Regions from separate parts of the Homo sapiens genome. Here all the other regions are linked to region 1. Evidence: promoter capture Hi-C in 16 types of primary human blood cells and fetal thymus (Javierre and others, 2016). All regions are on one chromosome and are shown on one strand. The core of a region is centred on a gene start or on the middle of the fragment in contact, and the rest is flanking DNA. Distances in the headings are between cores, read along the strand shown.

Evidence for each region. Contacts are between HindIII fragments. The CHiCAGO score rates a contact against its expected background, and 5 or more counts as called.
Region 2: a fragment that was not itself captured here is called in contact with the fragment with the promoter of SLC44A3 in region 1 in 1 of 17 cell types (M1 macrophages); the score reaches 5.6 in M1 macrophages.
Region 3: a fragment that was not itself captured here is called in contact with the fragment with the promoter of SLC44A3 in region 1 in 3 of 17 cell types (neutrophils, endothelial precursors and M1 macrophages); the score reaches 6.0 in neutrophils.
Region 4: a fragment that was not itself captured here is called in contact with the fragment with the promoter of SLC44A3 in region 1 in 1 of 17 cell types (total B cells); the score reaches 5.4 in total B cells.
Region 5: a contact is called between a fragment that was not itself captured here and the fragment with the promoter of SLC44A3 in region 1, in 4 of 17 cell types (neutrophils, monocytes, total B cells and 1 more). The highest score is 9.2, in neutrophils.
Region 6: a contact is called between a fragment that was not itself captured here and the fragment with the promoter of SLC44A3 in region 1, in 8 of 17 cell types (neutrophils, M2 macrophages, M1 macrophages and 5 more). The highest score is 10.6, in neutrophils.
Region 7: a contact is called between a fragment that was not itself captured here and the fragment with the promoter of SLC44A3 in region 1, in 16 of 17 cell types (neutrophils, total B cells, M2 macrophages and 13 more). The highest score is 24.8, in neutrophils.

What each region holds. Positions count from the first base shown.
Region 1 is chr1:94,817,831-94,822,094 of GRCh38, forward strand. It overlaps SLC44A3 (solute carrier family 44 member 3), which reads left to right and starts at 2,527. Exons shown (of 15, transcript NM_001114106.3): 1 at 2,527-2,648; 2 at 3,119-3,226. The coding sequence starts at 2,622. SLC44A3-AS1 (SLC44A3 antisense RNA 1) reads right to left here and starts at 2,402. Exons shown (of 6, transcript NR_160780.1): 1 at 2,126-2,402. RefSeq lists a silencer at 2,531-2,720. The HindIII fragment of the contact is 9,215 bases long and covers 1-3,573 here.
Region 2 is chr1:94,353,537-94,357,800 of GRCh38, forward strand. No RefSeq gene overlaps it. Among named protein-coding and RNA genes, the nearest start is that of ABCD3, 63 kb to the right of the region's middle. The HindIII fragment of the contact is 454 bases long and covers 1,474-1,927 here.
Region 3 is chr1:94,383,979-94,388,242 of GRCh38, forward strand. It overlaps a transcript of ABCD3 not described here. Among named protein-coding and RNA genes, the nearest start is that of ABCD3, 32 kb to the right of the region's middle. The HindIII fragment of the contact is 2,317 bases long and covers 802-3,118 here.
Region 4 is chr1:94,406,675-94,410,938 of GRCh38, forward strand. It overlaps a transcript of ABCD3 not described here and the pseudogene RPL21P26. Among named protein-coding and RNA genes, the nearest start is that of ABCD3, 9.6 kb to the right of the region's middle. The HindIII fragment of the contact is 2,862 bases long and covers 419-3,280 here.
Region 5 is chr1:94,436,531-94,440,794 of GRCh38, forward strand. The region is part of intron 1 of ABCD3 (ATP binding cassette subfamily D member 3); the gene reads left to right. Among named protein-coding and RNA genes, the nearest start is that of ABCD3, 20 kb to the left of the region's middle. The HindIII fragment of the contact is 5,440 bases long and covers 1-4,264 here.
Region 6 is chr1:94,451,933-94,456,196 of GRCh38, forward strand. All of the region lies in intron 1 of ABCD3 (ATP binding cassette subfamily D member 3), which reads left to right. Among named protein-coding and RNA genes, the nearest start is that of ABCD3, 36 kb to the left of the region's middle. The HindIII fragment of the contact is 2,585 bases long and covers 1,181-3,765 here.
Region 7 is chr1:94,473,903-94,478,166 of GRCh38, forward strand. It overlaps ABCD3 (ATP binding cassette subfamily D member 3), which reads left to right. Exons shown (of 23, transcript NM_002858.4): 6 at 1,241-1,338; 7 at 1,712-1,835. Among named protein-coding and RNA genes, the nearest start is that of ABCD3, 58 kb to the left of the region's middle. The HindIII fragment of the contact is 2,360 bases long and covers 575-2,934 here.

The DNA.
Region 1 (4,264 bases), core at 1,277-3,776:
TCATCCATTCCAGAATGAGATTTGAGCCCACATGTAAATCAACACACAGCTTCCTTCATTGAGAAAGTCTTGCTACGAAAGTGTCAGCTGAATCAAAGAGTTTGCTTATGACATAGCTGATATGCATTCTGGTACAAGCTCCTTATCTCTTAGAGAACAATTAAGTTTTGTGAACCACCCTTTGAATGGCACTATTTTAGATCACTGTCCTATCATTTTGGCCTCTCATTCCTGAGTCCCACACCCCTCACAATATTGATATTGTCTATAATTTTAGGTCTGAATCATTATAAATACACTGTTCTTTGTTTTTAGACTTTTGAAAAGAGTTTTTGTAAGTCAGGTTTAATGAAATACAGTTTACATACAATAAAATTCACCTTTTCTAGTGTACAGTTCTACAAATTTTGACAAACAGATACCACTGGGTCATCAGTACCATTCTCAAGATAATGGAATATTTCCATCACTTCAGAAAGTTTCTCCAGATTCCCTTCACCCCCAGCACCTGACAACCATTGATCTATTTTCTGCCTTTTCCAGAATGTCACATAAATGGAATCATAGAGTAGCTTATTATATCTGACTTTTTTTCACTTAACATGCATTTGAGATCATCCATGTTTTTGCATATGTAAGAAGTCTGTTCCTTCTTAATGCTTAGTTGTATTTCATCGTATAGATGCATCACAGTTATGTATAGCCACCCACCAGTTCCTGGACACTTGGGTGGTTCCTGGTCTTTTTTCTAACACAACAATAAATTCAGCCTAAATATTTGGCCACTCTCATGCTATATCTATTGTATCATCTCCTGAATTTGTTTCTCTTCTTGCTTGATTATGTCCTCCAAGAATGTCATTCAAATGAATCTTTCATAAGAATATTTTTATTATTAATACATTCTCACATTCTAATGACAATATGGCTTAATAGAAAATAAGTTCAAAGTTATGCTTTTAAATACTTACATATAGAAACATTTTGCTTGAGATAAACCTTTTCAATCTGAAGGTTTTTTTCTACCTTGAAATTTATCTCCATTATATCTTCAAATATTTCCCCTTCTCTGTTTTTATATTTCTTCCTTTCTGTTCTAGTTTTACCCTAGATATAAGCTAGAAAATTTACAAATAAGCTAACTTGTTTTTTAAAACATTTTCTACTGCCTCTGGAGGTTTGCTGAAAGTGCTCTTCCAATTACTAATTCATCGTCAGCTGCATCTTTTAGACTATTGCACATTACTAATACGTAGCATCAATATTCATTCTAATTATTATTTTTATGCTTAATATGTTTTAGTTTCATATTTTTTCCTGATTCATATTGCTAATATCATAACTCATTTTAAATAAATTTATCATGCTTATTTAAAAATCTTGGTCCATCTGCTCTACTGATCAGTTTCAGATGGCATATGTTATTCAGTTGTGGTCTTTTAACAGTAGTTGCACTCCTCCAGTGTCTAATTCTTTGTCCTATGAATTCATGTTCCCCTGGGGTTTCACCTACTCTGTCTGATAAACATGCATCCAGGAAGGCCCAGTGAGTTTGCAGTGGGAGGGTGGTGTGAGCCCAGAAGGAAATCGCTGGCACCAGAGAACCACTGTCTATCATTCCCAGTTTCTCCCACTTACCCAGATCTTTCCTCCAGTCAGGTTTCTACCCTTAGGGAGAAGCAGCACCTAAAGGAAGCAATTAACCTAGCAACCCTAAGGGTGGCAGGGGGAAGGGTAGAGGCTTGATTGAGAGGAGGTGGGGGGAGGTCGGCCTGCAGTTTTTTTTGTTTTTCGTTTTTTAAATTCCTCACCCCAACAGTGCTTTTGCGCTGGTCTGACACTACCTGGAAAACTATGCCACCAGTCGCTTCAGTGGACACTACCATTTCAATTGCGAAGTCAGGCAATGATTGTCCTAAGGCAAGGTGGGAGAGAAGTCAGAGTAAACCACCTCGAGAGCGCCGGTCTCCCGGAGTGTCTGGGTTCGACTCCTGCCTCCACAACTTACTGGGTCTCCTCGAACAAGTTGCATCACCAATGGCCGTGCCTCAGTTTCCCTCCTCCGTAGATTAGGAATAACAATAGCAGTGAGAACAGAATCCAGCACACAGTAAATGCTGCTTACCTGTTTGCTATGTGGAATACGCCACTACACTGTTGCTCGGCCCTCAGGAAGGGTCTGCTGAGACTTTCTACTTCCTGCTCAGGGCAGAGGCCGACCACCCGCCCAAGGTCGTGGCGGCGCCGGCTCAGCTTTAGTCGTCAAAGTGCACATCCTGGGAGCCGCTGCCTCGAGGTGGTTGAGGCGAGAGGGCAGGGAAGCGTCTGAGCCTCTTCCTCCCACCAGAGCAGGACCCCAGCTGACAGCGGGTGAGCTGGGCAGAAACCCATGCCGGGAAGAGGCGGACCCAGTGGACCGCAGCGCCCGCAGTCGCCGGGCCAGGCGCAGAGGCGAACGGGAGGCGGCGCTGCACCGTGCCCGCCCCTCCCCGGCCCGGCCCCGGCTCCAGCCCCAGCCCCAGCCCCAGCCCCGGCCCCGGCCCCGGCTCGCGGGCGCTGCGTCTCCGCGTACAGGAGGCGGCGGCGGCTCCCAGTCACCGGCCCCCGCCGGCGAGCGCACGATGCACTGCCTGGGCGCCGAGTACCTGGTAAGCGCTCGCAGCCTCGGCCCTCGGGGGAGGAGCCCCGGGGAAGGGTCGAGTCCCCCGCCTTCACGCACCTTCCCTGCCGGACGCTTCCGCCTTTCCCGCGCCTCGGGGATCCCGCCCCCGCTTAGTACCTTGGGGCCACCTGGCGGGGAGGAACCTGGACCCTGCTCCAGTGCTGGGGCGGAGGCGGGGGAGACGCGGGCCGCGGGGCGCAAACTTGGGGTCGTCCTCAGGTGCACCTCCAGGTAAGCACTTGGCGGCAGGGGGCTTAACATCCGCTCCGCGCAGAGCAGGTGTTTCAAAGGCTGTGTGAAAGAGCTTCAGGTGGCCACGTAAAAAAATAATATTAATTTTAAAAATTTAGAAAAAGATTGGTTACTTTGGCCCCTCTTCGAGTAGATTTGGGTTCGGTTTCCAGGTTGAGTCCACCTGTTTATCTTCTTTTTCTCAACTCTCCCTTTTTCTGGAAGGTTTCTGCAGAAGGAGCCCCTAGGCAAAGGGAGTGGCGACCCCAGATTTATAGGAAATGCACAGATACGGCATGGTTATTCCTGTTCTTTCTCTTTTGGACTGGTTTGGTAAGTGTGGGTGCTTGGTAGGAAAGAGGCCAGAGTGTGTGTGCACGTCTGGAAATAACTCTGTCCCAAATGTAAATCGTAGTTGGTGCTGCAGTGAGAGACTTCTGCCGTTAACCCACAATAAACATCAGTTTGTACTCGGGAGAATTCTTGTCCTAGACTCGCTAGAAAGGCTGTCTTTTTGCTACAGGCCATGTTCTAAGGGGTGACTCCATTAGGAAATGGGAATTAACAGTTTGCAATGTGATTGCTATTTAGTAAGGCCAATGTGTCTCCTTTTACTCTCCGAACTTACTGAACAGAAGTTCTTTTAGCACCTGCCACACCCCCAAATCAAATATTCCTCAAGCTTTTGGTGCACCTTTAACAAAGGAAAAGCCAGGGTAAGCCTAGAAATAAACTGCATTTCCTTTAGCTGAACATCACACACACACGCGCGCGAGAGATATGTTGTGTTTAGCAGCCAACACTGTTAACCATAGCTAACAAGGAATGATTTTTCCCACTCTAATTTCGAGGTATGTATGATTGCTGGTAAACTCCATCAGGCTATGCGGTTATAATCCTGAGAGAGTCTGTTGGAAGCCGAATCTTGCTGCTTTTATACTTATTTTAGAATTGTAGGTAACAGCAGAAAACGTCTCACCCGACATTTTCAAAGGCCACTTTCACGAAATCATCCATGCCAGGATAAGGCATGCTATTTGCTGCATGGTAAATGATTAATTTATAGAGCAGGGTAATAACTACCAGATAGTAATTACCTTTGTTGAAAAGAATTCCATCTGAATAGGCCCTAAAATATCATGTTTGTTCTTTCCAAGTAAGAAAGGCATTTGTTCACTTATGACCCGTTTCACATAGACAGGCTTGGTTACAGGCACAGTGGAAGGTTAGGTCTGAAACACATAATCAGATGTTTTTTGTTGCTTACGTTGGAACTCTCCCCTAGGAGCTGGGAGAGACAGTGCACCTACAATACCTTCTGCTTAACTTCGCAGATGGTTGGTGTTTTTATCTGAGACTGCTGTTGTATAA
Region 2 (4,264 bases), core at 451-2,950, 470 kb before region 1:
AATGAGGGACTAGGGTGGTATTTGCTGTCCTCCACAACTCTCTCCCCATCAGCGGGCTTGGCCAGGCTCATTATCGTTTTTGTTTTTGAGACAGGGTCTCCCTCTGTTGCCCAGGCTGGAATGCAGTGCTGCAATCACATCTCAGTGCAGCCTCAAAACTCCTAGGCTCAAAGGATTCTCCCATCTTGTCTTCCCAAAGTGCTGGAATTACAGGCATGATGGCCACAGACAGGCTCTTTAAACAGGAAATTACCTCAATGGGTCTCTCCAGGCTCTGCCTCTTGTACTCTCTTGTGCCATCCTCTCTCAGCCTGTTCTTGGTCTTTGTCCACAATAGTTGTAGTGGTCATTATTGGTTGGCTACTCAGTATTCATTCTCTACCATTTTCCCACCCCTTTCATGATGGTTCCTGATGGAACTGCAACACCATTCAGACATTCGCTTATTTCCAAGCAGTGAGAGGAAGCTGATCCCACCCCCAGCTCCAGAGGTGAAATTGATCAGTCTAAGGGAAACTTATTCACTCCCTTTGCCAAAAGACCAATTCTGGCCAATGAGGATTTAGAAGTCTAAGGAGGAAACCCAGGCTGGAGTACAGTGGTGCCATCATGGCTCACTGCAGCCTCGACCTCCGGGGCTCAAGTGACTCTCCAGCCTCAGCCTCCCAAGCAGCTGGGGCCACAGGTATGCATTACCATGCCTGGCTAATTTTTAAATTTTTTTGTAGAGATGAGGTCTCCCTATGTTGCCCAGGCTGGTCTCAAACTACTGGGCTCAAGTGATCCTCTTGCCTCAGCCTCCCAAAGTGCTGGGATTACAGGCATGAGACACTGTGCCAGACTTAACGCTTTTCTTTTAAAAGAAAGCCACAGAAGGAAACATATCCTATCTCATAATGTGATGTTAGGATCTTCTGTAGCCATCTTACTACCAGCCTGAAAACGAAGCCCCCATTTAGGATGGCAGAATGGAGAGATGGCGGCAATGTCATCCTGCTCAGTCAATCAACTGTGGTGCCCACTCTGCCTCTGGGCTTCCTGTTAAGAGAAATATATAATACATTTTCTAAATGTTCGACTCAGTTTGAGTAGAGAATTCTATTACTTGTTAACATACATTGAGCTAAGTTTTGGGCACTCTTCAAGTACCTTAAATAAATCCATGTATTTACAACTTATAAGAAACCTATCAAGTTCACTATTTTCCTCATTTTGCACACAAGAAAACTAAGATACAAGGAGCTTGAATATTTTGCCCAGGTCACACAGCTAGTTAAGGGATAAAGCTAGGGTTGAATCTAGAGCTGGCTCAAAATCCGTAGACTTAACCACTCGTCTATCACTTTGCACCGGGCTGTCACTTGCAACCTAAAGCATTGCAGCTGATACTAACTACACGTTGCTTCTCAAGGCTGCCTCAACCAAGACTTAGGCTTTGGACCTCCTTAGCCTCCAAATCTATTGCTTCAGGCAAGCTTCACTCTCCCATGCCCACCTGCAGGGACCAGGAGTCCAGACATTAACATCTAATGTCATTTCCCATTTGAATACCTAGAAAGGCAGCCAAAAGTTAAACGTGAGTTCTTATTTCATATTCTGTGTATTTTAAGCACCTTGATATGGTCACCCTATTCAAATGACATCTATTGTGTGAGCCAAATCCTGCCTTTCAGGAGAGACCCTCTTAAGGACCTTAAGAACTGGCTGGCAGCAACTGGGAGCTTTTATATTAGTCCTGTTGCCATTGAGGAAATAGACAAGCTCTCCTCAAGCCTGTCTCGGGGACTATGTGATATATATGCATATATTATATACGTAAAACTTAGAGTTCATTGCTACATTTTGATAAGTAAGTAGGCAGACAGTAAATAGGAAGATCAATAATAGACAAATAGATAGACACATCCCCCCACACATATATTTACCAAGCTTATGTTGTGATAGGAAACTCCCGAACCTAGCACAGCTGTATATATTCTTCCTTTGATAATCAGCACTGTTTCCCCCTTCATTGTGTAACATGGGAGTGGGAAGGAACATGATTACCAGACAAGATCAATCAATTTACCTCTGCTCCCCCTGCCCTTCGTCCTGAGCAGTCCCTTCCCCCCTCCTCATTGAGAGTTTTAGGCTGTTGATCACATTCTTCCTAGCCTGTGATTGGAAGAGGATCTGGACTTTGCATAGGAACATTTTAGCAACTTACTTTCCCTGCCAGCCCTCCCATGCTCCACGCCTACCACTATTACCAGTAAATTATTTGGCAAATTTTCAGAATTATTTGAAAAATAATCAAAGCATCTAGGGGACAGGTGAAAGGGATTCTAAATCTGAGGCAGAGGTTATCAGTGGATGGTTCTATTTGATTAAGTCAGGCATGTACTCTTGCTTAATCCTGAGGCAGCATTCTTTCAACACTAATCTGTTTGAAGTCACTTCATAAGGATCAAGAAGAGAAATAATGTTAAATAACCCATTTCTAGATTTATCTGAAAAAGAAGGTGTGTTATCTTGAATGATGTGGAGAGAGGAAGACTTCACATTTGAGAAACTCTAAAATGGTAAAGGATCTAAAGTGTGATAGGATCTCCTTATGTCTAAACATGGAGGACTTGGGTTTTTTCTCCTAAAATGTTTTGTATTATAAACATCTGAAGCTTCCTTTTAAACAGAACTAAAATGAAGCAGATAGTTCAAACTTATCTGAATTTAGAGTGCAAAAAAGTATAATGTCTCTTTTTCAACTCACACTGGGCTTTGAAGATAAAGGTCAGAGGCTTGAGAGGTCTTGTCTTTATGTGAATAGCTAAAGAAGAGGATGCTCACAGAGGACTGGGATTTTTCTTTGTGTGCACTCTAGAAGAAATTTTTTATTTTATATTTTAAAAATTCAAATATTATTTTCTCCAGACCAAAAAAAAAGATATAGAAAAGTGATAATAGGGATGGGGAAAATGCTGGAGGAGCTCCAATTATGAATGGCTTATGTGTTCTGGTAGAATGTTCTGCTCCCTGACAGTCCTCCTGGTTTCTTAATGGAATAGTTCAACACTAAGGAGATGGTCAGGGTGATGTATTTATCTTTTGGAAATACCAATCCTCAATTTATAGATAAACATTTTTAGTTATTCTTATAAATTTTTTGTATGGCATACTATATGATATACTATAGTGCAGTACAGCCTTTCATATTGGTGGTTTCCACATCCACGGATTCAACAAACCGAGGATTAAAAATATTCTGAAAAAAAAAGTCCAGAAAGTTCCAAAAGGCTAAACTTGAATCTGTAGCATGCTGAGCACTGTGTTGAAACCATGAGACTAAAGTGATGTGTAGGCATTGTATTAGGCCCTACAAATAATCCAGAAATCATTTAAAGTATATGGGAGGAAGTGTGTAGGTCATGTGCAAATACAACATCGTTTTATATAAGGAACATCCTTGGACTTTTGGTTTCTGCCGGGGGTCCTGGAACCAAGCCACCACAGATACCAAGGGATGGCTGTATAATAGTATTTTTTTCTGATTTTAAAAGTAATACATTTACTGTTAAAAAAATTTAAAAGTATTCTTCATTCAAACAATAAATATTTTTGAGATCCTATTATATGTAGCCTCTAGGAATGCAATCTCAAACAAAAATAGACATATTCTCTGTTTTCATGGAGTTTAGAATCAAACATAAAGCACACAGAAGAAATGTCATTCACTTATTCATTCAACAGATATTTATTGAGCATCTGTTCTTATAATCATGTGAAAATTGCCTATAATGCCAGTACTTAGAGTTCATGTTAAATTTTTCTTAGTAAGTAGGCAAACAGTAGGTAGGAAAATAGATAAATAGATAGATAGGTAGACAGATAGATAGATAGATGAATGGATAGATGGATGGACAGATGGATGGATAGATAGATAGATAGACAGATGGATAGATAGACAGATAGATAGATAGAGGTAAATAGACAGATAGGTATAGATAGATAGAACTGTATCTTGAACATTTCCTGAGTGAATGAATTGTTGAGTTAGTATAATGAGCCTCATAATCTCAAAGTGAAAATACGCTCATATCATTTTATTTTTTCCAAGAAATTGCCTAAGCACTCATCTGCTGAATAAGCAGGAAGCTCAGTATTTTCCTCCAAGGATTCTCTCTCTTGTTGAAAAGTCTGAGAATCCAGGTGCTTTCCAGGTTGTAAAGGGTAGATCAGGCTGACTTCCTCCTGAGGCTCACACAGTTGTCCCACTATACCTTCAACA
Region 3 (4,264 bases), core at 710-3,209, 430 kb before region 1:
AGAATGTCTGATACATAGTAAGTTCTCTGTATGAGTTATCTGTGGTATCTCTTGCTTACTGATGTTGCTCTTTAACACTTGCATTTTCACTCGGCATTCAGTTTGATGTCATCTCTTCAATTTCGGGGCAAGGATCTCATCATAATTTGCCTTGTCCTTCACAGACCTGACAGTGTACTTTGCATGTAGTTGGACCCTGTAAATCATTGACTGGTAGTGCAAATTCCAAATGGCCTGTTTCATAATGATGTGACCTATGCTGTTACTCCAGTGGAGTTTATCTCAGTGTTTTCTCTGTGGGAGGCTGTTAGCATGGTGACTAAGAGCTAGGATCTGAAGTCAAGCAGATCTGAGTTTAAATTCCAGTTTTGCCGTTTACTAGCTGTGTACCTTTGGAGAAGTCACTCAGTCTGTCTCAGCTTCTATTCAATTGTGACTAGGATCAATAATACCTACTTTCACATAGTTACTGTAATGATTAAAATGAAATAATTATATAATAAAATTAAATAACACATGGCCCATCCTAGGGGCTCAATAAAGGGTAGTTAATATAAACATTTTTTATCCTAGGCAACACTACCACCTTGACTTCAACACTCAGAGAGACAATTTCTGAAACCAGCCTTTTGCTTGTAGTGGGTGCCAATCTCTGCACTACTGTGGATGTTTCTGCAGCAAAGGATAATGTCTTGAGACCCTAACTACTCAGGTGGATTGTGGGACTTAATGTGCTTCCTAGACCCAGCAGAGTCAGATGTACCAGGAAAATTCTAAAAGCCCTAGCAGAGGGAGAAAAGAAGCTTTCTTAACTCAGAGGGAGTTTCCACTTAATGCCGACAGCTACTCTTAGGTGTGAGTGGCGGCTCAGAGGCTGCAGGGGAGGCAATGCTAAGCATAGTTAGAGCAAAAAGGCTGGGCCTTTCTCCAAAGTCCCTAAGAGATGGAGAGAAGAGGAATTACTGGCCTACCCAGCCCTAAAGTACACACATGAGGAGCAGATACATTGTTCAAAGGCTGAACCTGTTTTTTTAAAAAAATGATGTCTGGTGTGAATGACTTTGATAGCAGCCAGGAACAGGAAGTAGAGTGGCAGCTGCACAGATGAATCCCCGAGAACTGAGTTTTTCCTGTAGCAGGAACCAGATCTGGGCAGATTAAATCTTGCTCTCTCTGAAACACCTTGGGGAGACTTGTTCCCAGAGTGAAGAATGGGGCATTCTCTTAGCTGACAGAAGGGGCACATGGCCATCCCGAGAGGTGAGTGTTGGGGAACAAATGAGGTTATCTTGGAACTGGCATTCCAGGAAGTCTAGAAAGTGTCCTGAGCAAATAAAATACACTTGTGGACTGGAAGGAGACCTCTGATTTTACAACATGTGAGGAGACTCCAGAATACAAAGCAAAGAGAGAGAGAGCAAGCTGAGAAAAAAGAGGGAGAGCAAAAGTGTCAAGAGAACACACTTGATGTGGAGCAGTTAAGAAGAAAGAGGCCAGAGGACTGTACCCATGCTGTTGCACAGAGCACTTACCACCTGACCAGGAGCCACTGACACCAACCCCTGCCATCTGTTGCCATTTCTCTGGCTGTCATGCACCTGGTGGTACAGAGGTACTCTGTATGTGTCAGCCATGGCCTCAAACACAGATGAGTTCCATTTTCCTGTCCATGGAAAATATGCGTAGCTAATCTTCCAAAGAACTTTACATTTCAAAGCTCCTATGTCTAACTTATGAATCTGCTCTTAATCATTACCCATAGCTTGAGAACTGTCACCCTAACCCAACTTTAAGAGATGTTTATCTGTGTCACTAAAGACATCAATTCTCATAAATGGTGCGGAGATGCATATAGATATATGTCTATATATAGCAGGTTACCAAGTAGAATGTGCAGTGTGTAATCTTAACCATGAAAAAAAAATGCTCAAGAAAAAAAGACTAGAAAGTTAGCTTATAGGAGTTATATTCACTTCCTTCTCGATACCTGATACGTACTATAGTTTCCAAATTTTTAGAAGTGAAGAGATTACTTTTAGAATCTGTTTCTTTCTTTCTTTCTTTCTTTCTTTCTTTCTTTCTTTCTTTCTTTCTTTCTCTCAATATGTTTTATATGTAAGTTTCAAAGAAAAAAAGAAATTTCCCACAGCTGCCAAAGCCACATTTCCCTTCAAAGCAAGATGAACAGCCAAGAACTCCTTTCTCTGGGCCATGGATGGGTAGAAGGGTGGTGGGATTGGCAATGACCATCTATTTCTTAAACAGTGGCCTTGAAGGCCATGATGAGCAACAGGCTTCTTGGAAGAAAGGTGTGATATTAATTCAGGGCTTCCTAAATTATATTTTAATTTCATAATAGAAACAATACGCGTAGAGTTTCAAAAACACATTCTCACACTTTTCAAAGCAAGTGTCAAATTACTAAGATAACCTGGGTTTTAATCTCTTCTATTACACATTATTAGTACCGCTAGACTATCAATTTAATTTGGCATATATTTGCTACTTATTATTTACAAGGCAGTTTGCAGAAATGCAAAGCTGAACTTTAATCCAGTGGAAGGGAAAATACAGGTAGATACATAACAATATCACAAGTCAATATATACAATAAATTTGGCAAAAGGCAGTAAAAATGCTGTAGGATTAGTATAATAACTTTTTATACTTTCTGAATCCTTTGTAGTCAATATGAGAATTATAAATATAACAATTTGAACTTTCTAAGCAGTCAGTTGAGTATTTGATGACTAAAAAACTCCCTGGTCAGAAGGCTGAGGCCAGGAGGATTGCTTGAACCCAAGAGGCGGAGGTTGCAGTGAGCTGAGATTGAGCCACTGCACTCCAGCCTGGGTGACAGAGTAAGACTCCATCTCAAAAGAAAAAATAATAAAATAAAATAAAATTTACTGGGTCAATTAAGATTTTCAATGAGCAGCATTTCTTTTATTCTGTTTAATTTTTAGAATTGTGTCTCTGAGAGACTATGATGATTATTTGGAGCTGCTATAAGAAGTTTAACTATCTCCTTGATTTGTTAACATTTTCTTTTCAGTAGATGTGCTCACAGAGATTATTTAGCTTTGGTTCTGTATTTTGGAACATTTTTTCTATGCGAAGCTTTTCCTGCTAAATATGCTTAAACCTTTATTTCACAATTTACGGAAGGTCTGACACCTTCCCCAGTGTTATTGCCAAGTGCCTGGGTGTGTGTTCTGACTCTGCCATTTGCCACTCTGACACCACTTCACTTTTCTGAGCCTCTATTTAACAACAGGACTTGAGTAGTTTGAAATAGTCCATACCATCATTATTTACTTTGGTTTGGTGGAAACTGGAAGCAGTGATGGTGCCTTAACTGGGGCATTTTTTTAAAAGACACTAACAGGTAACCATTTCCATTTCTATAAGCTCTTGGAGCTCCCTGCTGCATCCCACATGGCACCAGGCTACTGACAACCTTGCTCTCTCCTCTCTCCATATTTCTCCCATTTTCCTTCTCATCCTTACCCCTTCCCTTCTTGATGGTCTGAAGAACTCCAAACTCTTCTATTATGAAGAACAATTCCATTTCTTGAACCCTTTCACAAACTCAATTTTGGGTTTACCTTAGCAAAACCAAACCCATTGTGCTACTTAACAGAAGAAAAAAATTCAAATGTAGGATCAGGCATTCATAAAACATAGTTGTGGGAGGAAAATAGCAACTTTTATTCTGCATGGGTGAAAGTTGTTAAGTAAACATTGTCAGTGTTATGCGATCTTCAGCTCTGAGTGCGACAAGGGTCTCTGAAGTTTTCTAATATTTGAATAACAGCAGCAGCATTATAATGTGACAGTGAATGATGGCCTCCCAACTTTTATTCCTCCTGGGCAATTAATTTTTAAAGAATCTGATTCCTTGTACTAAATCTCTTTCTGCTTGAAATACCCAAGGTGCTTTCTGTTTTCCTGCACTGAGCACTTATGATACAAATGAGGGAGTGAAGGCTCAGGTAGCTTAAGTCACTTGCTCAAAGGTCACATAACTTAGAAATGGTAGGTCTATTTGACATCAAAGCCCACACTGCTCTTCAACTCTGTATGTTTCTTAATTATGTTTTTCAGACATGGCTATACTTTTCAAGTAAAATTTACTTATAGTTACCAAGTACAAGTAAAATTATTTCAAGGAAGCAAGGGATAGACATGAAATTTATTTAAAAATAAAACATAATTCCCATGAAGGAATTCTTATCTATGAACGCCTTTGAATTACAAGTGA
Region 4 (4,264 bases), core at 600-3,099, 410 kb before region 1:
ATCCTGAGAACATCGTAGACTTCCAGTTATGGCATGGTAACACTTGTGCCGTGTTCCTTTTTCAACAAGTGCCCATCTCCTTGATGTTTATGACTTAACTTTTCTGATAGATTTGCATGTATGTGGCCAAAGGAGCAATGCCATGTTTCCTAAAAAGCCTGGAGAACATGTATTGGGTGGCTCTCCTCTTTCTCTTTGTGTTCATCATCTTGGCGAATGACTGAAAGATGGTGGTTACAGCCAAAAGGCTATAGTATGTTTCACTATCTAGTGGGGCTATAACCTGCCTTTTCAGTTGCTCTTTGATGTTTATTTTCCCCTATAAACTTTAGGATGAACTTGTCTACCTTCATAAAAACAACAACAACAACAACAACAACAAAAAACCTCATAGGATTTTTTTCTTAAAATTGCATTAAGCTTATAAATTAGCTTAGGGAGAACTGACATACTGATGATATTGAAACATCCTTTTGTTTTTGTTTTTGTTTTTGAGACGGAGTTTTGCTCTCACTGCCCAGGCTAGAGTGCAATGGCCCGATCTCAGCTCACCGCAACCTCCACCTCCTGGGTTCAAGGGATTCTCCTGCCTCAGCCTCCCGAGTAGCTGGAATTACAAGCATGCACCACCATGCCCGGCTAATTTTGTATTTTTAGTAGAGATGGGGTTTCTCCATATTGGTCAGGCTGGTCTCAAACTCCTGATCTCAGGTGATCCGCCCGCCTCGACCTCCCAAAGCGCTGGGATTACCAAGCACAAGGGGTGTCTTTCTATTTGCTCAAGTCTTCTTTTCTGTGTTTCAGGAATGTTTTGTAATTTTCTTCATATAGGTTTTGCACATTTCTTGTAAGTTTATTCCTAAATATTTTATCTTTTTTGTTTCTATTATAAATGGGGCTTTCTCAACCATTGTATCTTACAACTGGTTGTGATTTGTGTATGTGAATATTATCCAGCTCATCAGGAGCACCAGGCTAGACTAAAAACTGAGGAATCTGGATCTCGAGTTTGTTCTTGGTAGTTATTTTATAATCAATTCATTCCTGCTGCTAAAGCGATGGTCAGCAAACTATAGCCTGTGGACCAAATCTGGCCTACCTTCTGTTTTTGTATGGCCTGCAAGCTAAGAATGGCTTTTACATTTTTAAATGGTCAATAAAGAAACAACAACAAACAAAAAATAATATTTCTTGACATTTGAAAACTACAGGGAATTCGAATTTCAGAGTCCATAAATAAAGTGTTATTGGAACACAGCAATGCCGATTCATTTATATTATTGTCTTTGGCTGTTTTCCTGATACAACGGCAGAGCCGAATAGTGGTGGCTGAGGTTCTCTGGCCCATGAAGCCTGAAATATTTATTACTTGGCCCTTTGCAGAAAAAACGTACAGAACTTTTCCTGAAGGAACTCATTCTCTAAGAGATGCAGAAGTTAAGTAAATAAACCAGTACGATACAGAGCTGTCATTTCTATTATAGAGGAGCAAAGAAGATTTTATTTTGACTTGAGGGTAGAGAAAGATAGAGAAAACATAACAGAAAGCGTTGACTGAGCCAAGTCTTGAAAGACAATATACACCGGGATCAGGGTAGCAGATTAGGTTACTAGAATCAGAATGCAAGGCTGCTGCGATGGCTCATGCCTGTCATTCCAGCACTTTGGGAGGCCAAGGTGGGGGGATCACTTGAGGTGAGGAGTTTAAGACCAGCTTGGCCAACATGGTGAAACCCCATCTCTACTAAAAAAATCCAAAAAAAAAAAAAATTAGCTGGGCGTAGTGGCGGGTGCCTGTAATCCCAGCTACTAGAGAGGCTGAGGCAGGAGAATTGCTTCAACTCAGGAGAAAGAGGTTGCAGTGAGCTGAGATTGCGCCACTGCACTCCAGCCTGGGTGACAGAGCAAGACTCCATCTCAAAAAACAAACAAACAAAAAAATCAGAATGCAAAGAATGGGCAGAGCCTGCCATATGGAGACGATAAATCATCCATATGGCTGGATGAGCAGAAGAGCTAAGCTAGGACCACACTAAGAAAAGCATACTCCCATGCTAAGAAGTTTGGATTTTATTCTTAATGTGATGGAGAGTAGCTGAAGAATTTTAGATGAGAGACTGACATGATCATAATTGTGTATTATAAAAAGAGTTTTCATTGCAATGAAACACAAGGATGGAGGAACTTAAGTCTGGAATCAGGCAGAGAACACAAGGCTTCCTCCTATGTTAAACTGCAATAAGACCCTGATAAAGTCGGCTACCACATTCATGTTGTTATACACTCCTATGCGCTTTCTTTTCCTTATACTAATTCTACCCTTATCAATCTGTTCCTTTTTATAACTTTTAAGGCCTTTTTTCCTGGGGTCCTTTTTACACTGAATCATATATCATCTGGGGGGTGGCAGGAGGGGAGGAAGTAGGGAAGGTTAATGGGTATAAAAAAATAGAAAGAATGAATAAGATCTAGTATTTGCTAGCACAACAGCGTGATTATAGTAAAAAATAATTTAATTGTACATTTGAAAATAACTAAAAGAGTACAATTGGATTGTTTGTAACACAAAGGATAAATGCTTGCAACGATGAATACCACATTTACCCTGAAGTGATTATTATGCATTACATGCTTGTATCAAAATATCTCATGTAACCCATAAACATATACACCTACTATATACCCACAAAAGTTAAAAATTAAAATAAAAATTCATCTTATTTTTTTAACTGTTTTGTATTTCGGTCTTTTCTCCCTAATAAATCACTGATAGATCATTGATACATTTTATAACATAGGCAATTGAGACAATATAGTATGAATTAATTTAGACCCACATTGTATTGTAACCCAATTTACATTTTTCTGATCCTGAAATTTATAATTACCATATACCGTTATATCGGTGAAACTTTACTTATTACAACTTTAAAAAATTATACAAACAGCAATAATAAAGACTCCATTGGCTTTTCATAGCTTTTTATTTTAGAACTTTCTGGCATCATTGTGGCGTTTCTGACACATCAGATTTTAGCAATTTTCCACTCTGGTGGGTAGCACATAGTGGTACAGAATCCAGAATCAGATAGTGGCCAGTTGTCACATGAGGACAGTGGGGAGCAGCATCTCAGCCTGGGCATGGTATTATGCAAAGTTCTATTTCTGAGAAGGAGACTTGATAAGGCTCAGCAAAGTATCCAATCATAGCTGGGTTCAAGGCAACACTTTGGTCCTAAGATGGGAACGGTGCTACTGGAATTAATAACCAGTCAAACTAAGCTTTATCAAGCCCTAGGAGCTGTGTCTGGTTGACTGGATATACAGATGGACTCCATATACAGACGGATGGCTGAGCACTGAGTTGCTGAATAGGGCAAGACTGTATAGTGGCTACAATTTGCTTTGTAACTGCATAATTTTATAAATGAATGGAACTGAGCATGCAAGTGTGGCACACAGGGGACAAGAGAACCAAAATTAATATAAATATAAAACTAATGCATGTCATCAGAAACTTGCCTCCTTGCAACTCCCTAGCCTGGAATTTTCACTCTCTTATAGATTCCCATAGTACTTTGATTGTATATCCAGCACAACTTTTATTACAGTGGTCCTTGTGGTTATTATTATTATGGTATGTAGATTATTCATTTCAAGAGGGTAGGACTGTTTTATTTACTTTTGAATTCCTTTTAGGTGGGCTCTCAATTCACAAGTAGCAGGATAATTTCTTGAAATAGCAGTTTTATATTTTCTGTCTAAAATTCTCCCCTTCTCTTTTCCCATTCAGAGAGAAAGGCCTGTGCTTCTTTTTGCCTTCACTGGGGTTGGTAGATGGCTTCCTGACTTTTGATCATCAAAGCTTAGACTGAAACTGAGGTTCAAGGAAACTAAAAAGATCCTGACAGAGGCTGGAGGAGAGAGGGGTTCTTTAGCTGAATAGTGCACAGGTCAGCTGAACGCCTAGGTCTGAAGATCTCAGCCTCACCCCAAAACTTCATACCCCTTTCATGTCATAGAAGGAACCATGAAGGCTGGGGCAATGACAGTTCAGTCACAGCTAGTGCACACAGATGATTAATAAATGGAACGGACTCCATAATGCCCTAGAGATGTATGAGACCCCAGAACTTTGACATAATTCTTAAAGTGGAAAAGCCTGAGAAGATTGGGTTTTTTGTTTCATATTTAAATTTCATTTTCAAATGTAATTGGTTCAACAAATGATGCTGGGACAGCTGGATATCCACATGCCAAAGAG
Region 5 (4,264 bases), core at 562-3,061, 380 kb before region 1:
TCATTTTATTGCACTTTACTTTTTTGTGCTTTGGCGGTAATGTGTTTTTTACAAATTGAAAGTTTGTGGCAACCCTGCATTGAGCAAGTCTATTGAAGCCATTTTACCAACAGCATGTGCTCACTTCATGTCTCTGTATCATATTATGGTAATTCTCGTGATATTTCAAACTTTTTCATTTATCATATCTGTTATGATGATCTGTGATTGGACATCTTTGTTGTTACTATTGTAATTGTTTTGGGGTGCCATGAAATTCAAAAGCTAGGTTTCTTGTGCCAGTTAGCCAAGTTGTGAATGCAAAGGAAAAGTTCTTGAAGGAAAACTGCTCCTTCAGTAAACACAAGAATGATAAGAAACAGCCTTATTGCTGATAGGGAGAAAGTTTGAGTGGTCTGGATAGAAGATCAAACCAGCTGCAACATTCCCTTAAGCTAAAACCTAATCCAGAGCAAGATCCTAACTCTTCAGTTCTGTGAAGGCTGAGAGAGGTGAGGAAGCTGTAGAAGAAAAGTTTGAGATTAGCAAAGGTTGGTTCATGAGGTTTAAGGAAAGCAGCCATCTCTATAATATGAAATTGCGAGGTGAAACAGCAAGTACTGATGTGGAAGCTACAGCAAGTTATCCAGAAGATCTAGCTAAGATAATCGATAAAGGTGGACTATACTAAACTACAGGTTTTCAATGTAGACAAAACAGCTATCTATTGGAGAAGATGCCACCTAGGACTTTCATAGCTAGAGAAGATAAGTAAATGCCTTGCTTCAAAGAACAGTCTGACTCTTTTGTTAGGGGATAATGCAGCAAGCAATTTTAAGTTGAAGCCAATACACATTTACCATAGTGAAAATCCTAGGGCCCTTAAGAATTATGCTAAATTTACTCTGCCTACATGTAAATGGAACAATAAAACCTGGATAGCAGCACGTCTGTTTACAGCATCATTTATTGAATATTTTAATACCACTGTTGGGACCTACTGCTCTGAAAAAAGATTCCTTTCAAAATGTTACTGCTCATTGTCAATGTACCTGGTCACCCAAGAGCTCTAGTGGAGATGTACAAGGAGATTAATGTTGTTTTCATGACTGCTTATACAGCATCCTTTCTGCAGCCCATGGATTAAGGAGTAATTTTGACTTTCAAAGCCTATTATTTAACAAATACATTTTGGAAGGCTGTAGTTTCCATAGATAGTTATCTCTGTGATGGATCTGGGTTAAATAAATAGAAAACCTGGAAAGGATTCAGTACTCTAGGTGCCATTAAGAACATTTGTGGTTCATAGAAGAAGGTCAGAATATCCACATTAATGGGATTTTGGAAGAAGTTATTCCAACCCTCATGGATGACTTTGAGGGGTTCAGGATTTCAGTGGAGGAAGTAACTGATGTGATAGAAATAGCAAGAGAACTAGAAGTGGAATCTGAAGATACAACAGAATTGCTTCAATCTCATAATAAAACTTGAAAGGATGGCCAGGTGTGGTGGCTCACACCTCTAATCCCAGCACTTTGGGAGGCTGAGGCGGGCAGATCACGAGGTCAGGAGATCGAGACCATCCTGGCCAACATGGTGAAACCCCATCTCTACTAAAATACAAAAAATTAGCCGGGTGTGGTGGCATGCGCCTGTAGTCCCAGCTACTTGGGAGGCTGAGACAGGGGAATCGCTTGAACCTGGGAGGCAGAGGTTGCAGTGAGCCGAGATCACATCATTGCACTCCAGCCTGGCAACAGAGCAAGACTCCATCACACACACACACACACATACACACACACACACACACACACACACACACACACACACACACAAACTTGAAAGGATGAAGAGTTGCCTCTTATGCATGAGCAAAGAAAGTGATTTCTTCAGATAGAATCTACTCTTGGTGAAGATGATGTGAACATTGTTAAATGACAACAAAGGATTTACAATATTACATAAACTTGGTTGATGTGACAAGATTTGAGAGGATTGATTGACTCCAAGTTTGAAAGTTCTATTGTGTAAAATGCCATCAAACAGCATAGTATGGCACAGAGAACTCTTTTTGTGAAAGGAAGAGTTAATCACTATGGCAAACTTCAGTGCTGTCTTATTTTAATACATTGCCACAGCCACCCCAGCCTTCAGCAACCACTGCCCTGTTTGTTCAGCAGCCATTAACATGGAGGCAAGACCCTCAACCAGCAAAAGGATGAACATTTTTTAGCAATAAAGTATTTTAAAAACCAAGGTATGTCCATTGATTTTTTTTTTAGACGTAATGTCATTGGATACTTGAGAGACTACACAGTATAGTGTAAACATAACTTCTATGTGCACTGGGAAACCAAAATGTTCACGTGACCCACTTTATTGCCTGTTAGCTTTATTGCTGTGGTCTGGAACTGAATGTGAAGTGTCTTTGAGGGTACACTGCTATGTATTCTTTCCCTTTTAACTCTCATTTATTCCTAGTTCTGCAAGTAAATCCATATTGAGTGCTCACTACCTCTTTTTAGGTCACTGGCTTTATAGTCATTCTTCTTGTCCAGAGCTTGTTCTGTAGTAAATTCCTCAGGAAGAGCTCATGGAACAATAATCTCTGAATTGTTTCATGTTGCAAACAGTTTGTCTGTGACCTTTGTACTTGAAAATTTGTCTGGATGTAAAATCCTAGGTTCACATTTTCTCTTCTTGAATATCTTAAATATGTTACTCTATTGTTTTCTGACACTGAGGGTTGTTAACAAAGTCTGTGGCTAATCTCTTTTGCTTTTCCCTTTTAAATGACTTGGTCTTTTGTGTATCCAAAGGATTTTTTTTTCACATTAAAAAAAAATTCTAGGCTGGGCGCAGTGGCTCATACCTATAATCCCAGCACTTTGGGAGGCTGAGGTGGGCAGATCACTTGAGGTCAGGAGTTTGAGACCAGCCTGGCCAACATGATGAAACCCTGTCTCTACTAAAAATACAAAAATTAGTCAGGTGTGGTGGCATGTGCATGTGGTCCCACCTGCTCAGGAGGCTGATACAGGAGAACGTGGGAGGTAGAGGTTGCAGTGAACTGATTGTGCTGCTGCACTCCAGCCTGGGCAACAGAGCGAGACTCTATCAAAAATAAAAAATACTCTGTTTTGTTTGAATATATGAAATTGTATATTTGTATATAATTTGTATATTTACTTTCATGTTTTATCTGTTGTGTTTATTTGCCCTTGTACTTTTTATGGTTTCATATTCAATTTTGAAATTATTTTTCTTTCTAAATTTCTAATATTTTATCACCACATTTGTAAGTTTAAAAAATATTATTTTATGCTGTGAGTTTATGTCTAGCATTGGCTTCTTGTACTTCATTTAGAGACAAACTCTCACTGTGTTCCCCAGGTTGGAATGCAGTGGCTATTCACAGGTGCAATCACAGCTTCCTGCAGCCTTGAACTCCTGGCCTCAAGTGATTCTCTAGCCTCAGCCTCCCAAGTAGCTGGGATTGCAGGCACACACCACTGTGCCTGGCTAGCATTGCTTCTTAATTTTTTCTGGATTATTTTGACATCATAGGTTATAGTTTTTATATCTTGTAGGAATGTGTTTCTCACATGCTTTCATTGTCTGTAGGGATATTTTTATTCTTGTATTTTTTCTTATAATGTTGTAAAAGATTTAACTTTGATACTATCCCATTGTTTGCTTTTCTTTTTTTGTCTGAAATTAATTTTTTCAACTTTTAGAAGAGGAAGTTTGATTTAGGATAACTTTTCTAATTTATGCTCTACAGCACCCTCTTCTGTTGTTTTCAAGTAGTGTTTGAAAATACTGTTTACTATCTGAGATCTCTAGGCTGTTTCTTTCTTACCCTTTGTTCCTATGGTCTCACATAGTATTCTGTTCCTTGCAGTTTCTCTTCGCAGGAGGCTCTGTTCTGAAAGGGAGCTTTAACTGGTTAATTTTGAGTCTTCAAGGGTCCAGGCTGCTCCAAGCCCAATAGACATTACCTTGAACTCCTTGCACTTGCTTACAGTGCTGTTTACTGGACTGTGTGGAATGCCTCCCAGTTCAGCTGCTGCTCTCAAATTGGTCCTTTAAGTTTTCCAGTGAGTTCTTTTAGTGATGTAGGGATCTTCCCGAGGTGGATAAGATACCCTATTACTTCACTCTGCTACCTTTCGGGTTTTGTAGCTGTTGGTAGGTTGTTACCTCCTATTCATATTTTGGGATTTGTAGAAATACTTTGTCATCTAGTTTTCTAGTTTCGTTGTATGTGTTGTCCATGGGTTTT
Region 6 (4,264 bases), core at 1,223-3,722, 370 kb before region 1:
CAACTCTTATTTATTCCCTTACTTGTCATTTCTAGTAATTTTCATGCTTCTTTCTTCCACTCTCATACCCACTGTCTTTGTTCAGGCATTCATCATCTCTGATCTTGGGATAATCCTTGGGTGCCTAATACATTCTAATCACTGAGGTCAAGGTTTCTTAGACAGGGTCACCATGTAATTTATTATCCTAACTGGTACAGTTTTGAGACTGAAAGAGTGCAATTAATTATTATATCAGGACAACAGATGTAAACAAGGACCATTCTGGGCAAACTTAATTCAGATGGCCACTCCATTCCAGGAAGATAAGTGCTGAATTTTAAAGACGAGTAGTAATCAAATAAGTTGATTGATGAAGAGTCCTTTAAAGCAAAAGAGATAGTATATGAGCAAATAGTGGGGTGAGAGAGAGCGCAGTATTAGGTTGAAGCATGTGCAGTTGCCATTTTATAAGTGAGAAATGGTCAAATAATTCAGTTTCACATAGTTTAACCTGATAGATGAAGGTAACTTGAGCACAGAGTGTGCCTCGTGGCAGGAGATGAACCTGAAAAGAAGGCAGGAGCCAGATCATGAAGTTCTTTGAGTACCATTTTATGGAATTTGGATTTTATTCTGAAAGTCATTATGTACATATTTATTTTTAAATTTTAATGATAAGGTATTTATCTAATTTTTGAATAGGCAGTACATTCGCATGGTCTGAAATTTTAAAAAAATGTTGGTGTAAGTGGGAATAGTTTGTAGTTTTCTTTGTGGAATTTGATTTTGGTGTCAATGGTTTTTTTTGTTTTTTTTTGTTTGTTTGTTTGTTTGTTTTTGGAGACAGAGCCTTGCTCTGTTTCCCAGGCTGGAGTGCAGTGGCACAATCTCAGCTCACCGCAACTTCCGCCTCCCAGGTTCAAGTGATTCTCATGCCTCAGCCTCCCAAGTTAGCTGGGACTACAGGCATGCACCACCACGCCCAGCTAATTTTTGTATTTTTAATAGAGACAGGGTTTCACCATGTTGGCCAGGCTGTTCTTGAACTCCTGGCCTCAAGTGATCCGCCCGCCTCTGCCTTCCAAAGCACTGGGATCCACCCGTCTGGCCTTCCAAAGTGCTCGGCCTTCCAAAGTGCAGGTGTGAGCCCGCCCAAGTTTGGGTGTCAGTGTTTTACTTGCAGCAAAAATAATGTGGAAGCTTCTTTTACCTGTGTCCTAAAACAGTTAAAGCATTGGAATTATCTGTTCACTGGGGGTTTTGTTAGAACTCCCCGGTAAATCGTTTGGTTTGGTTCTTTTTTGGGGAATAGAAGGGTAGGAGGTGGGCAGCTCTCAGACAACTTTATAATTTCAGTTTTTCAGTCTGTTTTTTCTTCTCTCTGCTAGGTTTGGAAAATTATATTTTTCTTTTTTTTTTTTTTTGAGATGGAGTCTCGCTGTCGCCCAGGTTGGAGTGCAGTGGCGCGATCTCGGCTCACTGCAGGCTCCGCCTCCCGGGTTCACGCCATTCTCCTGCCTCAGCCTTTTGAGTAGCTGGGACTACAGGTGCCCGCCACCTCGCCTGGCTAATTTTTTGTATTTTTAGTAGAGATGGGGTTTCACCTTGTTAGCCAGGATGGTCTCGATCTCCTGACCTCGTGATCCGCCCACCTCGGCCTCCCAAAGTGCTGGGATTACAGGCGTGAGCCACCGCGCCCAGCCGGAAAATTATATTTTTCTAGAAAATTAACCATTTCATTCAGGCTTTCAAATTTCTTTACATAGAGTTGAGATAAGAAGTCTTTTACCTTTTTTTTTTTCAAATTTTATCTATTTTTGTGCTCATTTTTTTTATTTTTTGTGTTTTTGTACTCCTTTTAAAATCAGATTGTCTCGTGATTTATTTTCCAAAGAATCAACTCTTGAATTTTAATGTATTAGTATTTTGTTTTCTAACTCATTAGATTCTGCTTGGGTGGTTTTAAATTTCTTCTGCTTTTTTTTGTTCTTTGTAAACTTTTGGTTGGATGCTTGTATTATTAATCTTTTTTTTTTTCATTTTTTATTGAAATAAGGTTCTGAGCATTGCTTTAGGTGAATTCCACAGGATATATATTTTATATAGATGTATGTGGTCTATATATATATGTATGGGCATGCATATGTGTATGTACTTGGGTATATTCAGTATGTATATACATATACACGTATTTGATGTGGTTATGGAAATAAATTGAAAGAGGACAGAAACTAATGATAACGAACTCAGAAAACAAGTGAGAATATTATAATAGTTCACATGAGAAATTTTGATGGCCTGAATTGAAATCATAGCAGTAGAAATGGAAAGAGCATAGAGAGAGATTGGAAATGAAGTGTATGAGAAAAGGAAAATAAATATCTTAGAATAATTCGCAGCTTTGTGGTTTGAGTAGCTGGTAGATGAAGGTGTGATCACTGATTTAGGGCTTATGTTCAGTATGGAATAATGGAAGAATAGATTTGGGGTGGAAAGGTGAGTTCAGATATAGACATGTTTGCATTAAATCCTGGTACAGATACCTTATTAAAAATCAGATATTCAAGTCAGGGGCTCGGGAAAGAGGAGGAAGCTAGAGATTTTGAGGGAGGGGGTCAGAGAAAGGGTAGATAGTTGATTTTGTGGTTTGACTGAGGTGGTCTAGGATAGTATCTCTTTGACCTAGAGATAGTAGGTCTAAAGATGCATTACTCAGGGTCTAAATTCTTATAGAACTTACTTTCTTTTTCTTTTTAAGATGAAGTCTTGGTCTGTCACCCAAGCTGGAGTGCAGTGGTGCAATCTTGGCCCACTGCAACCTCTGCCTCCAGGGTTCAAGCCATTCTTCTGCCTCAGCCTCCCGAGTAGCTGGGATTACAGATGTACACCACCATGCCCAGCTAATTTTTATATTTTTAGTAGAGACAGGGTTTTGCCATGTTGGCCAGGCTGGTCTCAAACTCCTGACCTCAAGCGATCCACTAGCCTTGGCCTCCCAAGATGCTGGGATTACAGGCGTGAGCCACCACACCTGGCCTAGAACTTTCTTTATAGAACTAATTTTGTTTTCATTTTGATGATAAATTAAAAATAAATTAATATAAGCATATTCTGGGTTATCTGAATGACTACCATGCTATACAGATTTTAGTGCCAGTATTGTGTTTAAATGGTTGCTAAGTGATCATCTAGAGCCCACATGTATGATAAATCTGCTGTATTGGAACTTATATCAGGTTAATGTGTATTAATGTAAAGTCAAGAAAATCATCTTCAACTTCTGTACTCATACTGAATTGTTTTGCCATTAAAAATATCTTTTATAGTGATAATTTCAGGTGAAAGCTATTTTCATAGAACTTCCTGAGAAACAAATCTCATAAAGAAGTTTTTAAGAAACTTATAAATGAATTTTTTTTTTTTTTTTTGAGACCGAGTTTTGCTCTTATTGCCCAGGCTGGAGTGCGATGGCACGATCTTGGCTCACCACAACCTCCGCCTCCTGGGTTCAAGTGATTCTTCTGCCTCAGCCTCCTGAGTAGCTGGGATTACAGGCATGCACCATCACGCCCGGCTAATTTTGTATTTTTAGTAGAGACGGGGTTTCTCCATGTCAGTCAGGCTGGTCTCAAACTCCCGACTTCAGGTGATCCTCCCACCTTAACCTCCCAAAGTGCTGGGATTATAGATGTAAGCCACTGCACCTGGCAAGAAATTTTAATTGTCACAGACTGATTAAAGAAAATAGGACTTATATGTAGATTATGTGTTCAGGCCAATTGAAGCTTTATAAGATGTCATGGTTCCCTCTGAACAAGGTATTTCATGGAAACTTGGAGAGAGAAAAGTGATGAAGTGATGGGAGAGCTGACTGATCATGTGACTCATTGGTAGGTGTGTGTGTACATGTGTATATATATATTTTTGTGAGCATCGTACTGCATGAATCTCCATTTATCTCTAAGTATCAATTTATAACATTTATTAGTGGTAAGCAGTGTGGCATTTTTATTGAATACTAATTTTTTTATTTTTATGTTGATATACATATACATTGTGAAATGATTACTATTATCAAGCTATAGTCACCATCCTGTACATTAGATCTCCAGAACTTATTCATCTTGCGTGACTGAACTTTGTACCTTTTGACCAACTTTTCCCCATTTCCCCCAACCCCTGAGCCCCTGACAACCACCATTCTATTCTCTGCTTCTATGAGTTTGACTTTTTTAGATTCCACATGTAAGTGAGATTATGCAGAATTTGTCTTTTTGGGCCT
Region 7 (4,264 bases), core at 505-3,004, 340 kb before region 1:
TTTACTTATTAAATTCTTTAAAGACTTATGATACTAAGTTCCTATTTTCAGTTTAGTTTTGTAATTTATAATATAATTTTCAATGTAAACCTTCATACTAGATAAAAAAGGGATTATGTTTGGTTTAATTTCATTTATAATGTGTATATATATTCATATACATATGTATGTGGGTGAGGGGTTTTTTGGCATTTTTTTTTTAACCTTCAGTCCAGGTTTTCTTCAGTGTTTAGCATCATCAATGACCATTAGATAGCAGTAGCACCCTTCTCCTAGTTCTAACAACCAGAAATGATTCCAGTCATTGCAAAATGGGTATGGGCAGGGGGCAACTTGGGGAGTTGGGGGGATTTAGAGGGGGGAATGCAAATCATCCTGGTTACTTTAGGCCATAAACTATTACAGTAACTTGAACTACTAATTTACTTTAAGTTAAATTGGAATTTATGGTCTGAATTTTTTACAGATAAATTGTTTAGTCTAAAATATAAGTGATTTTCTTAGGTTGGTTCTCATTTTAATTTTCTTGGCGCTGTAAGAATGTAATATTCTGAATTTGTGGGTAAAAATGAGAAGCTTGGTTGTAAAATCCAGTTATGTTGAAATTGCCAGAAATTCTTGTTTAATAAAGCTGGAAGCTGGGGCTACATAGCTTTTAGACTTTTTAAAATAAACAATTGGAATAAGCAACATAGATATCAAAGATTAAGATTCAGCAAAGACCACTTGAGAAAATTTGTAATGTAACGATGGAAAATGTTAGTAAAGATGGCTCTAGAAATAATCTGGAAAATAGCATTAGTTGGTGTAAAACCTGTAGTGTTTTTTTTTTTTAACAAATGCAAATATAGTGTATATAGAATTCCGTTGTCTAGGGTTGTAGTGCTGATAGTAGGAAACAGAAAATATAAATGTCTGAACTCCTAAAAGCAAGTCTTTACATTGGCTAGAAAGGGGATATATTTGACTTTTTGCCCGTTTACCAAAAAAAATGGGCAAGGTATGTCGCGTAATTAGTGATATTAACATATTCCATGTAAACTTTAACATAGAATAATTCAAACGAGGTACATTTGGTTTAGCTAAATGCAGTAAAGTAAAACAGAACTGAATTATATAAATTTGGACTAAATTATAAAAATTGTAGGATTTGGGACACAGGAAATAATAGAGAAATAAATTATAGTTTAGTAAGCAGAAATGAAAAGCAAAACCAATAATATTTGTTTGTTTGTTTTAGATCTCTCTGGTTAATAACTTCTTGAAGTATGGGTTAAATGAGCTTAAACTGTGCTTCCGAGTAAGGCTCACTAAATACCTCTATGAGGAGTATCTTCAGTAAGTGATAACCTATTTTTATATTAAAAATATTTAAATAGAAGAGTATTTATGAAGCTGATCAATATAGCAGTTTTTCTTATTTATTGTATGTTTTCTAAGAAAACCACTCTTAGGTACAGAAGCATGTTGGGAACAACCTTTCAGTTATTTGGAATCTAGTCCTGGCTCTTCCATTAATTGACAAGTCATCATTTTCTGGACTTGTGTCCTCCTCTCTAAAAATCAGTTAGGGCAATCAATAGGATCTCTTCTGGCTCCAAACTTTTTTGTTTCTATGTATTTGAGCTAGGTGGTGTAATATGATTTTTTTGTTGTTGTTTTATCTTTAAAGTCACTTGTTTTAAAATCACTTTTCTTCTTGCTATTTTAGAGCTTTCACATATTATAAAATGGGGAATCTGGACAACAGAATAGCTAATCCAGACCAGCTGCTTACACAAGATGTAGAAAAATTTTGTAACAGTGTAGTCGATCTGTATTCAAATCTTAGTAAGGTAAGTTTCTCTCCTTTTTAAAAGATTATTTGTTTAATTTTTTGAATTTTGAATCTAAGCAAATTTATATAGAATTGATTTTGTGGACATAACAGCAGCATGTAAATATTTAATGCTTTTATAAGAAAATTAGAGTTGTTGTAATAGTTTTAATTATTTTAATTTTTTCTATTATTTTTGTGAGGTACTTTGGCAAAGAACTGATAATTTAGTGTCTTATAAGGATTTTCTAAGAATTTTGCAGGTTGATTCCATTAAAACAACAGAAATTTGAATTCTCATCTTTTGACCTGTGTGCATCCGGCCATTGTTAGAGATTGACTGTCAATTTATGTTTCTAACTCCACACTTATAACACTAGACTAGGACTTCCTTTCTGCCCATTTCTCTGCTTCAGTATCTTTAATTCTAATAGATCATTAGTAAGTAGTAGTCAAAAAATTTCACAAGATGCAAGTATATTTCAGTTTTCTAATTACTGTTTTTCCCATTCTCCTCAGAATATTGCCAAAGCTCCTGACTGTGATAGGCCTTAGTCAGTTTTCCTTCTTCTCACTGATTTCTCCAGTTCTTATCTTAGTCATGTTATCTCACCACCCTTACAGCTTTTGCTGTAGTCTTCTTATTAAACCCTCTTCTTTGCCATTACCTCTTGCATTGACTATGATATGTAGTAGGCACCTATAAAATAGTCTGCCCAGCATCCCCTCCCCTCTTCATCTGAGATGCTTCAGTTCCCACTCTAACTCATGTGACTTCCCTTGGTGTTGGCTAGGAGCTTGTCTCATACTGGACCAATGATAGTATCTTTGCCTCTGGTCACAGTTGACCTAGATATACAGTTTTGAGACAAAAGAAAACCAAAACTATAAAAAGGACTGGGTCACATTGTAAGAATAGGAATGTTCTTGCTTCAACCAGATGGATGGAGGGAAGGCAATTCTTAGAGATATATATCCACAAGAGCTGCTCTCCTCATGCCCAGGCCCAATGCTTTTCACTTCCAGCCCAACTTTGTTATTTATTTAGCTCTCCAGAAGCCTTTGCTAACTGATCCCAAACTCGGGAACTCTGACAACTACAAATAGTTCAGTAATTAAGCTTTCTTTTCTGTTCCCATTACCACATTTGAAAGTTTGTTCTCTCTCTTTCTCTCTCTCTCTGTCTCTGTGTGTGTATGTGTGTGTGTATGCATGCATGCATGGTGGGAATGGGGGGTGTATCTATACAACTTTCCATGTAATTTTATAGACATTATTATGTATTCTTTAAATCTTGGCACTTGAGCAAGTCTCAGGTTTTGTCAAATCTGGAATACAGAAGAATATTAAATTAAGTACTTGTAGTGGGGCTGTACACCAGTGTGTAAGTTAGATGTTTTAAACATCTAATTGACCTCCAACTTAAATTATGAGTCATTATTTTTGTCATAAGTTTTAACAGTTCTTGAATTTTATAAGTATCTCTAGCTTCTTGATAACTTATAAGGCAAAAAAAAAAAAAAAAAAAAAAAAAAAAGGAAAGGGAAAGGTAGATGTTGAAACAAGCCAGTTAACAAACCAAGCCATCTATCCTAGTAATAATGTGGATTAGAAAGTGCTGGCTGTTGGCCGGGCATAGTGGCTCATCCCTGCAATCACAATACTTTGGGAGGCCAAGGTGGGCAGATCGCTTGAGCCCAGGAGTTCAAGACTATCCTGGGCAACATGGTGAAACCCCATCTACAAAAAATACAAAAATTACCCAGGCATGGTAATGTGCGCCTGTACTCCCAGCTACTCCAGAGGCTGCAGTGAGCCAAGATCTCCAGCCTGGGTGACAGAGCCAGACCCTGTCTCAAAAAAAAAAGTGGAGGTGCAAGCAGTGGCTGTTGACTTAAAGTGAATGAACACAATTTGTGTTTCTTGAAAAACATTTCAAACTAATGCAGCTGATGGTGCATTAGTTGAGTTGTCTCTGTGTGTAAAGAGCAGTACATTAATGTGTTATTTTGGTTCTAGAGACTTGAGTTTTATATCACAAAATTAGATTCAATGGCTTACTTGATTATTTTGCCATGGAAGTGATAAAGTAATAGAGTCAAACAATATTGGAGCAGGAAAAGCTCCTCACTTTACAGGTGAAGATATGTAGAAACAAACTGGTAGCAGATTTGGGGTTACATCTCAGGTCATTTTATTCAGTGTCTTTACATTATATTGACACATTACTGAGTTACTAGTGGTTAATTATCACAGTAGAGGTATCTTAGTTGATGGAAAGTGATAAATGTTTTTCCTACTTGATGGTCAGTAGACATTGTGTAAGCTGTTCCCATTTTAAGTTTCTTGAGAGGAAAACTGTTATCTTTCATGTATTCTTTGATCTACTTACTATCACAGTACATTGTACATAGTGGGACCTCTACATGTTGATAATTATATATTAAA